4 separate regions of the Homo sapiens genome follow, and regions 2, 3 and 4 are each linked to region 1. Evidence: promoter capture Hi-C in 16 types of primary human blood cells and fetal thymus (Javierre and others, 2016). All regions are on one chromosome and are shown on one strand. Each heading gives the region's core, a stretch centred on a gene start or on the middle of the fragment in contact. The rest is flanking DNA. Distances are from core to core; before and after follow the strand shown. Region 1 holds the start of NOC3L (NOC3 like DNA replication regulator). Region 2 overlaps ZNF518A (zinc finger protein 518A). Region 3 holds the start of ENTPD1-AS1 (ENTPD1 antisense RNA 1). Region 4 has its middle 2.7 kb from the start of EXOC6.

Region 1 (2,824 bases), core at 94-2,593:
GCACTTTGATACTCTTATTCTTGCAATCCATAAAACTTCCTGTAAAAATGAACGACTTTAGGCGGGGCGCGGTGGCTCATGCCTGTTATCCCAGCACTTTGGGAGGCCAAGGTGGGCGAATCACGAGGTCAGGAGATCGAGACCATCCTGGCTAACACGGTGAAACCCCGTCTCTACTAAAAATACAAAAAAAATTAGCTGGGCGTGGTGGCGGGCGCCTGTAGTTCCAGTTACTCGGGAGGCTGAGGCAGGAGAATGGCGTGAACCCAGAAGGCAGAGCTTGCAATGAGCCCAGATTGCGCCACTGCACTCCAGCCTGGGCGCCAGAGCAAGACTCCGTCTCAAAAAACAAAAACAAAAAACGACTTTGGTGAAATTACTAAGCAGACAGAATTTACCCAAAGTTGTAAGATACTGAAATGCAGATACAGTTTTTTATTTTTATTTTTATTTTTTAGACAGTCTTGCTCTGTCACCCAGGCTGGAGTGCAGTGGTGTGATCTCGACTCACTGCAACCTCTGCCTCCTGGGTTCAAGCGATTCTCCTGCCTCAGCCTCCCGAGTAGCTAGGATTACAGGCGCACGCCACCATGTCTGGCTGATTTTTGTATTTTTAGTAGAGACAGGGTTTCACCATGTTGGCCAGGCTGGTCTCGAACTCCTGGAACTCAGGTGATCCACCCGCCTCTGCCTCCCTAAGTGCTGGGATTACAAGCGTGAACCACCGCACCCAGCCATGGATACAGTTCTTTATCAGCTAATGGTTAAAAATTAAAGCAAAAAAAAAATGCAAAATAAAACACTAAGAATCACAGACTTTTAAGTGACCAAGGCTGATGAGAAATCATTCGCCATGCTACAAACACGGCCAGAATGTCCGTCGAGGGGCAGGCATTACACACAAAAAATAAGCTTCTTTCTGCCCTCAGGACTGTATGGAGGAAAAAGACTACGAAAATCAGTATCTATAACAGCATGAGATAAGCAACGTGAGGAGAGGCACAAAATGCAATGAGGTGACCGAAAAAACCAAGTCCTCTCATTCTGAGAGGAGGAGCCCGATTTCCCCAAGGTTTTAAAAGAAATAAATAGGGCGAGAGTCAAAGAATCATACTCAGATAACCTTGCAAAATGCGCCCCTCCCGCCCGGCTTCCCGCCTTTGGCACCGACGCCCTCGGGGCTTCCCTCGTGCCAGTCCGCGCGCGCACGCCGGGGGGCAACCGGTCCAGGGCCGCGAGACAGTCACCGCGAGAGGGCGCGAGCCCGAACCTGTCTACGGAAGTCCCGCCCTCACTTCCGGCGGCGGAGGATTGGGAGGGACTGAAGGCCGTTTCCGGCTCTGGTAGTGTAGGGACTTCGGCACGTGTGTCATTCCCCGGGATTTCTGTAGTAACCCTGCTTCTGGTGAACTTGTCTGGCCGGCATTCATTTAAGGCCTAAGGATGAAGGCGGTAAGTGTCCTCAAAAGCCCGGTCGCCGCGGCCTAGGGCCCCTTCGGGTGATAGAGTCACTGCCTGAGTTAGCTTTTAGGCAGGTTTTCACCCGTGTCTAGGGGGCGGTGGTTTAGACTGGGGGCTTTCCATTCCTTACACCGAGCTCATCCTTGGTTACCCACTGTGTGCGCGCACCACTTCAGAGTATCACGAAGAGACAGGCACGGAGTTTTGCATGCGTGGGATTTCATACTTTGAAGGAATTTTTCAAGACCGTCTTTCGAACTCGTTTTTCACAAATGAGAAGCAGGGTCCTACCCTCAGCGAGTTTATAATGTGAGTCACGGTACCCATGAAGGGTAAAGAGATAGAAAAGCAAGTGATTTGTCCTGGTTCTCCCAGAAAATAAGAGGTAGTCCTGGGGTTCAGGACTAACTTTGGGATTTCTGAATGAGTCACCAGCAAGAGAAGTGGAATCCAAAGATCCGAATTCAGTTTTGCCCTCCTTAGTTTATGGGTCTTTTGGCAGCTTCATCAGTAATGTGAGGATAACAGCAGTCAGTACTCAACTAGGCTGTTAGAGGTGATTTGTTGGAGCACTTTGTAAGTAATAAAATCGTAGATAAATGTAAGTTTTATTAAAGACAGCCAGCATTTTGCTTTGAATGTGTTAAACTACAGGTGTGTTAAACTAGCCTTGAATAGCCACTTACCACTACTAGATCAGTGGTTCTTAACCTGTTTGGGGATCGTAGAACCCTTTGAATTGCTGTGAATTGGGATTGAATAACTGATGCTGTAGCGCTCTTCTGTAGGATTAAAGCCATCGTTTGGTTTTAGCTTTTATATGCAAGTCTGTGGCTGTGGGACATTGAAATTGTGGAATTGGTCTAATGAAATTTGTAATCAGTTCTCTTTAACCTGATTTAAAAAATAAGTTTCTGGGTATGCAGTATTCTTTCTGTTATTTTCTAGAGAAGAAATAAAAAACAGATCCCAAGCTTTCGCAAGTTAATAAAAACTAGTAAAGTCAAACTTGAAAACAAGCTAAAAAATAAGCAGTTTAAACAACAAAGCACTCTCAAGAAGTACCGAAAAGAACAGAGGAAACTAAGGCAAGCTGTGAAAGATGCTGTGTCTAAGAAACCCATTCCATTGGAGAACCCAAAGGAAAAGCGACCAGGTAATTGTGAAAACATCATGTGCTCTGGTTTCCATTGATTTATTCTGAAGTGTTCTTCATGGAAATAACTTTGCTTTCTAGTAATCGCTTTTCTTGTTCTCAGATCTTCCTAGAGTGGGTAAGGATAGTAGTCCTATAGGACTGCTATAAAGCATATATGCTTTATCACAGTCAGTATGAGAAAACATTTCAATACAGTATTCATTC
Region 2 (2,824 bases), core at 145-2,644, 1.8 Mb before region 1:
TGCACCTGGGAGGCAGAGGTTGTAGTGAGCCGAGATCGCGCCACTGCACTCCAGCCTGGGTGGCAGAGTGAGACTCCGTCTCAAAAAAACAAAACAAAACAAAACAAAAAAGCTTGGAACCAGAAGTGTTTCAGATTTCAGATTTTTGTGGATTTTGGAATATTTGCATTACTTACTGGCTGAATATCCAAAATCCAAAATGTTCCAGTGATGATTGCCTTTGAGCTTCATGTCAGCACTCAAAAAGTTTCAGATTTTGGAGTATTTTAGATTTCAGGCTTTTAGATTTGGGATGCTCAACCTTTAGGAAAATTCTTAGCATTCAGAATTACTTTATCTCTTCAGGAATAACACAGTACCCATGTGAATCTCGTGGTAGGAAGTCAAACAAATATTATATAGGAAAAAGTTACTTAATGACATAAACGATAACGTGGTACCTCAACTCAGCTCTACTGCTCTCTACTCAATGTACATTATTTTCTGACAAAATAAAAATTCATGCCTTTGTAAAAAAATGGCCCTGAACAGAAATCCATTTGCTGGTGAAGTTCAGGGAAGAACACGGTTATTATGATAATTAAAGCAATACTGTAAGGTGGTATAGTCTATGTCAGCTATTTCAGCAGTTACATAAATAATCTTATTCCTAATTTACGGTCATACTTATGTGTATACTTACTGCATTTAGAGGAATTTTATGATACTGTGGTATCCAAGAATCTTAGCATTTCAAAGATCCCAGGACCTATCCAACACAAAGAGTAGGAGACATCTGTGTTTTGAGGGTAGAAAAAACATGTTTTTTTACATGGGTACAATATTTTCCACTACATTTCCAAAGCTTTCCTTATAATACCATAGATTTGTTGGCATATTTTTCCTCCTTTTTTGTCTACACCCAGACATTCACATGACTGTCTTCAAGAAACCAATCATAACACTATAGTGATTCCCAAGTCCCTTTCCTGATTCATAATGAAGATGCTATTAGTCATAATATAAACACATATCAGATAATTTTTCTTTAGGTACATTGCTTTGCACTTACTAGACCAAAACCACAATCTTCTGGCCATTCATATAGCTTTGAAACATCTATCTACCACCTTTATCTCCACTGTTCATTACCCAGAAGACTTTAATGCCACTTTTCTATTCAGAAGGATGATAGTTAAAGTTATATTTGGATTTCTAATAAAATGTTAAGTAATAAACTATGAAACCAAAAATTACTTTTTTTGCTTAGATTAAAATGAAAACTCATGTTTAAGTATTTTATTTTAGCCAAAAAATAAAATAAAACTATAACTTATATAACTTATGAAAACTCATGTATATGTAAAACTACAGGTTGAGTGTCTCTTATTTGAAATGCTTGGGAACAGAAGGGTTTCATTCTTTTTTTCTTTTTCTTTTTTAGGATTTTAGAGTATTTGCATTATACCAGTTGAGCATCTCAAATCCAAAAATTCAAAATCCAAAATGTTCCAAAGAGCATTTCCTTTGACCATCATGTCAGCACTCAAAAAATTTTGCATTCTGGATTTTTGGATTTGGGATACTTAACCTATATTTTACTTTATTTAGTCCAATATTAAAACATACCAACTTACTACTTAATAGACTATATACTCCAGTATTTCAATCTTTACCATACCTCTTTCTTCAGGAACAAAAGGCACACAATTTAACACTTGCACAATGTCACAATCAGGAACAGTGATCAAAAGAAGAGATGATATCTGGAAATGAAGACCAAGATTTTAAAACTTTTGACGACAAAAACTGTTCAATTACACTTCACATTCAACTTAGGTGTATAAAGAAATGTAAAAAAAAAAAAAAAAAACTAAGAAAAAACTTCTATACACTTAAGCATACATCATTGATGACCAGTGATAACATGTCACAAATTTGCAAAAGTCACAACCTAAAGCTTAGAATCAATCTAACTCAGTATCTTCATTTATTACAAGAAAAAGAAAATGAGCCTTGCCCAAAGTCACAAAACTAGAAATAATATCTGGATCCGGTTCCAATTCAGTTATCCTACCACCACAATACTAACCCTTAATACTCATTTCTGGTATCTAATATGCCATGAAAACTGCTCACCATGAGAAGCCAATACCCCATATAGAACTGAAATACTCACAGCCTACACACCTGGGACCAGATAATAAATAAAAATTTCAAGACGGTGTTAAAACCTTTTTGTTCTGCTAATAGCACTTTGCCACAAAACCTTCAGTAGCATACCTGAAGGAATGTGGGCAAGATTCAAGTCTCCTATCATTTAAAGAAAAAAAAAAAAAGTAGTATTAAGTGCTCTAAAGTATGCAATGTCACAATGCCTCAATGAGAACAATTCTAAACAACTATAAACAGAAAAGTAAACAACAAAAATACACTTAAAGGGCATTTAAAGCATATCCTGAAGTCAAATTATAGATCTAGGCTAAAGTATAGTCCCTCTGTAATATTTCAAAATATAGAAACTTCTGGGATTACAGCATACTATTACCAGAGAGACTAGAACAGAATCCGAAGTGTGACCATGGCAAAAAATTGAAGCATTTAAAAGTTCATACATTATCAATGCACACAGTGGGTGTTCATTGTGGTTACTGTCTTTTGTCCTTCCATAAAACCAGATATAAAACGTTTTATTTGGTAATTATACTTATTTTCACGCAACAAACAGGAAACATTTGGTTGTGTAACATACCTACATTTTATTCTCCCCTTTTGTTGGCAATTTTCTGTATCTAGGGATGATCTAATTTACAGTTTCTATGGCAAAAATCAACATCGTTTACTA
Region 3 (2,824 bases), core at 241-2,740, 1.7 Mb before region 1:
GTCTAATTTGAATGCGCATCAAGATGAATTTTTAGTAAGACTTATCACTGTGGGTGCTGAGTATGTGAGCAGGAACATCATAGATGCTAATTTACCTTTTAGTAGGCAACCAGGCCTGTGCCAGGACTTGGATAAGAAGGCTGTTACATGCTACCCTGGAGTTCCAAAGTAACCCCAATATCACCATCTGTCTTTGTTCCTCCACATTTTCTTCTTCCCGTGATCCCTTCTCATTTTTCCTTTCTATCTTCTTTTACTTGTTTTGTCACTGCTTTAGAAGTCACTAATAAGCAATAGTGGGAAGTAGAGTATGTGAATAAAGAATGAAGCTTTCTTTGGCAGTCTGAAATAAATTGCTTAAAACTGTACCCCAAAGCAGCCAGAATAAAAATAGCTTTTTATATTTGTTCTCCACCATTTCAAGTATCCAAACGCCCCACATGACTTGACCCCTGCAACTTTGTTTTAGGGAAGACTTTTGGTGGTAGCATACTCTCATACGAAAGTGTGTGAAAAACATCAATTTGCTTTTTTACTTTTCCTGTGAGGATTATAGAACCAAAACAAAATATCGAAAATTTTGAGAATACACTGACTCACAAAAATCCAATGCTTTTCTAGTCAAACAGGATTTCTCTACGTGATTTGTATCAAGGACGGTCATTTATCAAAATGTGACAACATGCCTTTGCCGTCATTATAACAGCAGGCAATTAAAAATGTTTTTACCATAGCCAGTTTGCTTATTTTTCTATTTTAAAAGGGTTTTATAGCAGATATGCAAAAGAGAAAGCAGAGAGAAAAAAATAAAATCACTCTCTATTCAAACACTATCACTGTTAATTTTGATGTATTTCTTGTGTTTTTCTAGGCATAATTTGTTTTTACAAAAACATAGCCTTAGTGGCTAGTCCCACTTTATTATGTGAGTACTGGTCAATGCAGAAAGAAGACTAAACAAACTACAGATTGGTTTTCAGTCATATTCTAAAGAAACAGAAGCCAAACAAACACTTGGTCTGGTGGAAAGTCCAAGATTATGGTCCTTGGCCCTCTGTTAAGGCCAGCTAGAGTATCTGGTGATGGTGAGAGGCCTCCAACTGTCTTAGTCCTGGATTTAAAAGGGCCTAAACGGAGCTAAAATGTTCCCCAGAGCCTAGCAATCATTGACAGTTTCCTCAGGTAACCAGCGCTGCAGACGGAGAATGCTGCAAAGGCAAGGTGTCAGAAACCAATTGAAATCCGAGGTTCAGCCAAGGGGACCCAGGCACACACGTGGGCCTTGTGTTCACCATAAAGAGCATACTGGCTACAAGTTGGCCCCTCTCTGGGCAACAGAGTGCCTAACTTAAAGGGGCTTACGAGGATGCCATGCGCCAACAGCTCTGGTTTTACAAAATGGAGTCACCAGGGAGAACGCGGTGTCTGGGTTAGACCACGTTCACCAAGTACCAGCTATACGATCTCGGACAAATTTACTTGCCCTCTCTTAACCTTAGTTTCCCCATATATAAAATGTAAGTGATACATTTCTGACTGCTGGGATTGTAAGGAAGGGATTAAATGGCTTGCCAATGAGGTGTTCAGCACAATGCCTGCCTAACACGTAAAACGTGTTGGGGTTGGTTGGTTGTAAGACCCACAACCTCTCTCCCCACTCTACCCCCGCCCCGCCACCAGCAGCCCAGCTGCAGCCGCTTCCGGGAACCACTTCGCTTCGGTCTCCCACTGCCGAACGCGGATCCCTCCGCGTTGCGTCACTTCCGGGAGACTCTGGCCGCGGCGATTCAATATATCCGGAAGCAACTGTCATGGCTGCTGTCAGTGAGGGCCCGTAATGGAGATCGAGTCAAGGGTTGCCCAGGGACACTTAAGAGCCTTCGGCTTCAAGGAGGCCTCTCAAAGGACAAAGGATGAGACTGCCTGGCGGCAGAGTGCCCCCCACAATCGTAGGAACTGTGTCGCCGCGCTTCCCGTTAACTTGCCGCTAAGTTTTTCTAGAAAAGTCGCCCTTCTTGCCAGGGTGGGACCTCACTTCTGACCTAGCCCTTCTTTGTGTACCAAGTTTTTGTTTCCGTCATTTCCCGCAGCCCGGGAGCTCGGCGGGCGATACTGTGGTAGCCTGGGAGGAAGGGGCGGGCCGGATGCTGGAACCGAGAGAGGTGGGGCTCGTCGAGGAGTCACGGGCGGCCGAGGCTGGAGTCTCCTAAATGCAACCTTGAGCTGTTCCACCCTTTGGTGCTTGGTCTGTTAGCTCGAGGTGCTCCTCACCGTGGAGGCGTTTAGAGCTGGTCATAAGGCTCTTACCTGCTGACCCAACCACCCTCAACCACAGCTTGCCCTGCTCCAGATAGACTTTGATCCTAGAAAATATCTAAGATGGGTGTAGTGCAGTATGTTATTGTTTTAAGTCTCAAACATAAGCAAACTATTATTAAAAGTTTTAGAATTAATAGGCAGAGTTCACATATTGGGTCGTGTTATTGTTTTAAGGTTTAAATTTAGATAACATGTTAGTACTTGTTGAGATTTTAACAAAAGCATTAAAAAAATGAGAAAATAGATTAATCTTTAGAATATTTTAAGTTTGCTACTGCGCAGTGGTAACATGAAGACACCTCATAATAAGTCTTTGATTACCAGAAGCTTCTGAAAGTAAAATTATGGGTATATTAATGTGAGTTTTCCTCTCTGCAGGGTGTCCTATAGACTTTGTCATGGAGTGAAACAGAAACAAATGTGAGTTAATCATTAACATTTCCTAGTGGTTAAAATTACTTTTTAAGCGCTTAACTGTGTATTTTTTAGATTGAAGATTTCAAAT
Region 4 (2,824 bases), core at 172-2,671, 1.5 Mb after region 1:
TGACTGTAAATGACAATGGCAGTGTCTGCCTCATATTGCTGTCCCATGGTGTATGAGTTTTCCATTGTTGCTTTAACAAATCACCACAAATTGAGTAGCTTAAAATGACTCAGACATATTATCTTACAGTTCTGTACGTTAGAAGTCTGTCACAGGTCTCACTGGGCTAAAAATCAAGGTGTCAGCATGTCTGTGTTCCTTGCTAGAGACTCTGCGGGAGAATTTGTTTCTTTGCCTTTTCCAGCTTCTAGAGGCCACCCACATACCTTGGCTTGTGGCCCCCTTCCTCCATCTTCAAAGCTAGCAGCATTACATCTCTCTGACCATTCTTCTGTGGTCACATCTTCCTCTGACTCTGACTTAGGCTGGAAAAGATGCTCAGTTTTTAAGGACCCATATGATTAGAGTGGACCCAACCATTTAATCCAGGATAATCTTCCATCTCAGGGTCCTTAACCTTAATCACATATGCAATACCCCCTTTGTCATGTAAAAATAACATATGCACAGGTTCCAGGGATTAGAATGTGAGCATCAGTGGGACCCACTGCCTACCAAACTTAGGAAGGGCCCTATAAAACATTGCTAATGCCCTCCTTCCTATTAATCTGGAATCTTCAGAGCAATGGATTCCAGCTATACACATCCATTGAGCTAAGACAGTCTTCCATTTCCTGCAGAGAGACCTAGCTTTTCATTCTTTTTGTGGGAGGGGATAAAATTTGTCTTCTTTTTTTTATGTTTCAGTTTCAATTTTCAAAAGGTTATTTTCCCCTCTCAAGAACTTCTTAGGTCGAGCACAGTGGCTCACACCTATAATCCCAGAGCTTTGGGAGGCTGAGGCAGGAGGATTGCTTGAGCCCAGGAGTTCGAGGCTGCGGTGAACTATGATAATGAGCAAAATGAGGAGAGCAGGGCATGTGGCACAGGCCAGTTTCCTATTTGACCAATGTCTCCAGCTGGGGAATTACTTTCCTGATCATTCCTTCCCTAGAACTCTACCCCTTTTCTTCACCAGTCCTGATACCTTTTATTCCAAAGCTGGCTCCAAGTGCCCCTGCTCTGGGAAACCAGCCCTGCTTAGGCACTCCTCAGGCCAGCCCTGTTTCAACACCTGCCCATAGAGATTACTTCAACATAAGCAGCAGTATCTTCCCCGAAATTCAAGTGAACATGGAAGGAAGTCCATTTACCACTTCTCCTTCTGAAACAGTTTTTGCTGGTTCCCTCTGAGACTTCTGACAGTTCCGTGAGTACCTGGAGGTTTTAGCTAAGAATTCAAAGCTAAATGTCCTAAATAACTAATTGCACATTTGTTTTGTTTGTTTGGTTGGTTTTTTCGAGACAGAGTTTCGCTTTTGTTACCCAGGCTGGGTAACAATGGCGTGATCTTGGCTCACTGCAACCTCCGCCTCCTGGGTTCAAGTGATTCTCCTGCCTCAGCCTCCGGAGTAGCTGGGATTACAGGCACGTGCCACCACGCCCAGCTAATTTTGTATTTTTAGTAGAGACTGGGTTTCTCCATGTTGGTCAGGCTGGTCTCAAACTCCCGACCTCAGGTGATCTGCCCGCCTCGGCCTCCTAAAGTGTTGGGATTACAGGCGTGAGCCACCGTCCCCGGCCCTAACTGTACATTTTAATCATGGACATAGATATATCAAATATGTCAATGTGGGGTGGGGGAAGCCTATCCAAGGGATAAATGATTTTTTTTTTTTTTTTTTTTTGAGATGGAGTCTCTCTCTGTTGCCCAGGCTGGAGTGCAGTGGTGCGATCTTGGCTCACTGCAACCTCTGCCTCCCGCTTTCAAGCGATTCTCCTGCCTCAGTCTCCTGAGTAGCTGGGATTACAGGTACATGTCACCACATCCAGCTAATTTTTGTATTTATAGTAGAGATGGGCTTTCACCATGTTGGCCAGGCTGGTCTCACACTCCTTCCCTAAAGTGATTGCCCTGACTTGGCCTTCTGAAGTGCTGGGATTACAGGCATGAGCCACCACGCCCAGCCCCAAGGAGTGAATGATTTAACGTCTGCACTGAGAAGGTTGCGGAGTAGCAGGGCACAGACAGGCAGATTGCAGATGCATGTGGAATTATTTTTTGGCAGTGGATATTGACTTCCAGAGATCAATCCAAAATCTCTTTTCAGGACTCCTGGAAGAAGAAAGATACACCAGGAAGACCAGCAGGACAGGAGATGCATTTTGTGTCCAGTATAAAAGTAATTGGCAAAGTAAGGATTTGACTTGTAAATAAACTCTTAGTCATTAGGAACTTAACTTTGCGCCTTTTATCTACAGACTAATGACCTGTCTTGGGAAAGCGCCTCCCTCAGAATGAGGTTGTAGAGTGCAACTGCTCTGGTCTGGCATTTAACTACTTGAATTCAAATTCCAACTCATCTCTTACTAGATGTCAGGCCTCAGGGAGTTACTTAACTTGACTAAGGCTCACGTTCTTCAAGTGTGAATTAAGGACAATAAGAATCCCTAGCTCACCAAATTATGTGAGGATTAAAGAAGATAATATATGTATTATGTTTAGCCTAGAGCTCAATCAACATTAGCATTGGCGACTAGGGTTATCAGGCATTTGCTAGTAAGCCAGAGAGCCCAGCATTTTAGCCTCCTCTTTGATAAAATAAAAATAAAAACCAGACACATAAATGTTCTTTTTCCTAATCATTAAAAAAAAACCTGATTGTGTATCAGGGTTTTCTGCATGTTTGGTGGATGTAAACCAACTGAAATATGTTTCCTGCTTTTGTAGAGAGGGAAACAGGAACATGTCTTTGGGTTGGATTCTTGGTTCCAGACCCATTTT

What was found. Contacts are between HindIII fragments. The CHiCAGO score rates a contact against its expected background, and 5 or more counts as called.
Region 2: a contact is called between a fragment that was not itself captured here and the fragment with the promoter of NOC3L in region 1, in 1 of 17 cell types (non-activated CD4 T cells). The highest score is 5.4, in non-activated CD4 T cells.
Region 3: a fragment that was not itself captured here is called in contact with the fragment with the promoter of NOC3L in region 1 in 2 of 17 cell types (activated CD4 T cells and total CD8 T cells); the score reaches 9.1 in activated CD4 T cells.
Region 4: a fragment that was not itself captured here is called in contact with the fragment with the promoter of NOC3L in region 1 in 6 of 17 cell types (naive CD8 T cells, total CD8 T cells, activated CD4 T cells and 3 more); the score reaches 11.9 in naive CD8 T cells.

What each region holds. Positions count from the first base shown.
Region 1 is chr10:94,361,458-94,364,281 of GRCh38, reverse strand. NOC3L (NOC3 like DNA replication regulator) reads left to right here and starts at 1,343. Exons shown (of 21, transcript NM_022451.11): 1 at 1,343-1,452; 2 at 2,410-2,617. The coding sequence starts at 1,444. RefSeq lists a silencer at 1,140-1,269 and an enhancer at 1,410-1,669. The HindIII fragment of the contact is 1,523 bases long and covers 915-2,437 here.
Region 2 is chr10:96,131,507-96,134,330 of GRCh38, reverse strand. It overlaps ZNF518A (zinc finger protein 518A), which reads right to left. Exons shown (of 6, transcript NM_001330736.2): 2 at 1,661-1,745; 3 at 683-748. It overlaps LOC124902486 (a long non-coding RNA gene), which reads left to right. Exons shown (of 2, transcript XR_007062254.1): 2 at 1-2,824. Among named protein-coding and RNA genes, the nearest start is that of ZNF518A, 2.6 kb to the right of the region's middle. The HindIII fragment of the contact is 1,095 bases long and covers 847-1,941 here.
Region 3 is chr10:96,089,181-96,092,004 of GRCh38, reverse strand. It overlaps ENTPD1-AS1 (ENTPD1 antisense RNA 1), which reads left to right and starts at 1,770. Exons shown (of 6, transcript NR_038444.1): 1 at 1,770-2,023; 2 at 2,698-2,739. RefSeq lists enhancers at 1,621-1,670, 1,681-2,050. The HindIII fragment of the contact is 2,317 bases long and covers 332-2,648 here.
Region 4 is chr10:92,844,456-92,847,279 of GRCh38, reverse strand. It overlaps a transcript of EXOC6 not described here. Among named protein-coding and RNA genes, the nearest start is that of EXOC6, 2.7 kb to the left of the region's middle. The HindIII fragment of the contact is 3,318 bases long and covers 1-2,824 here.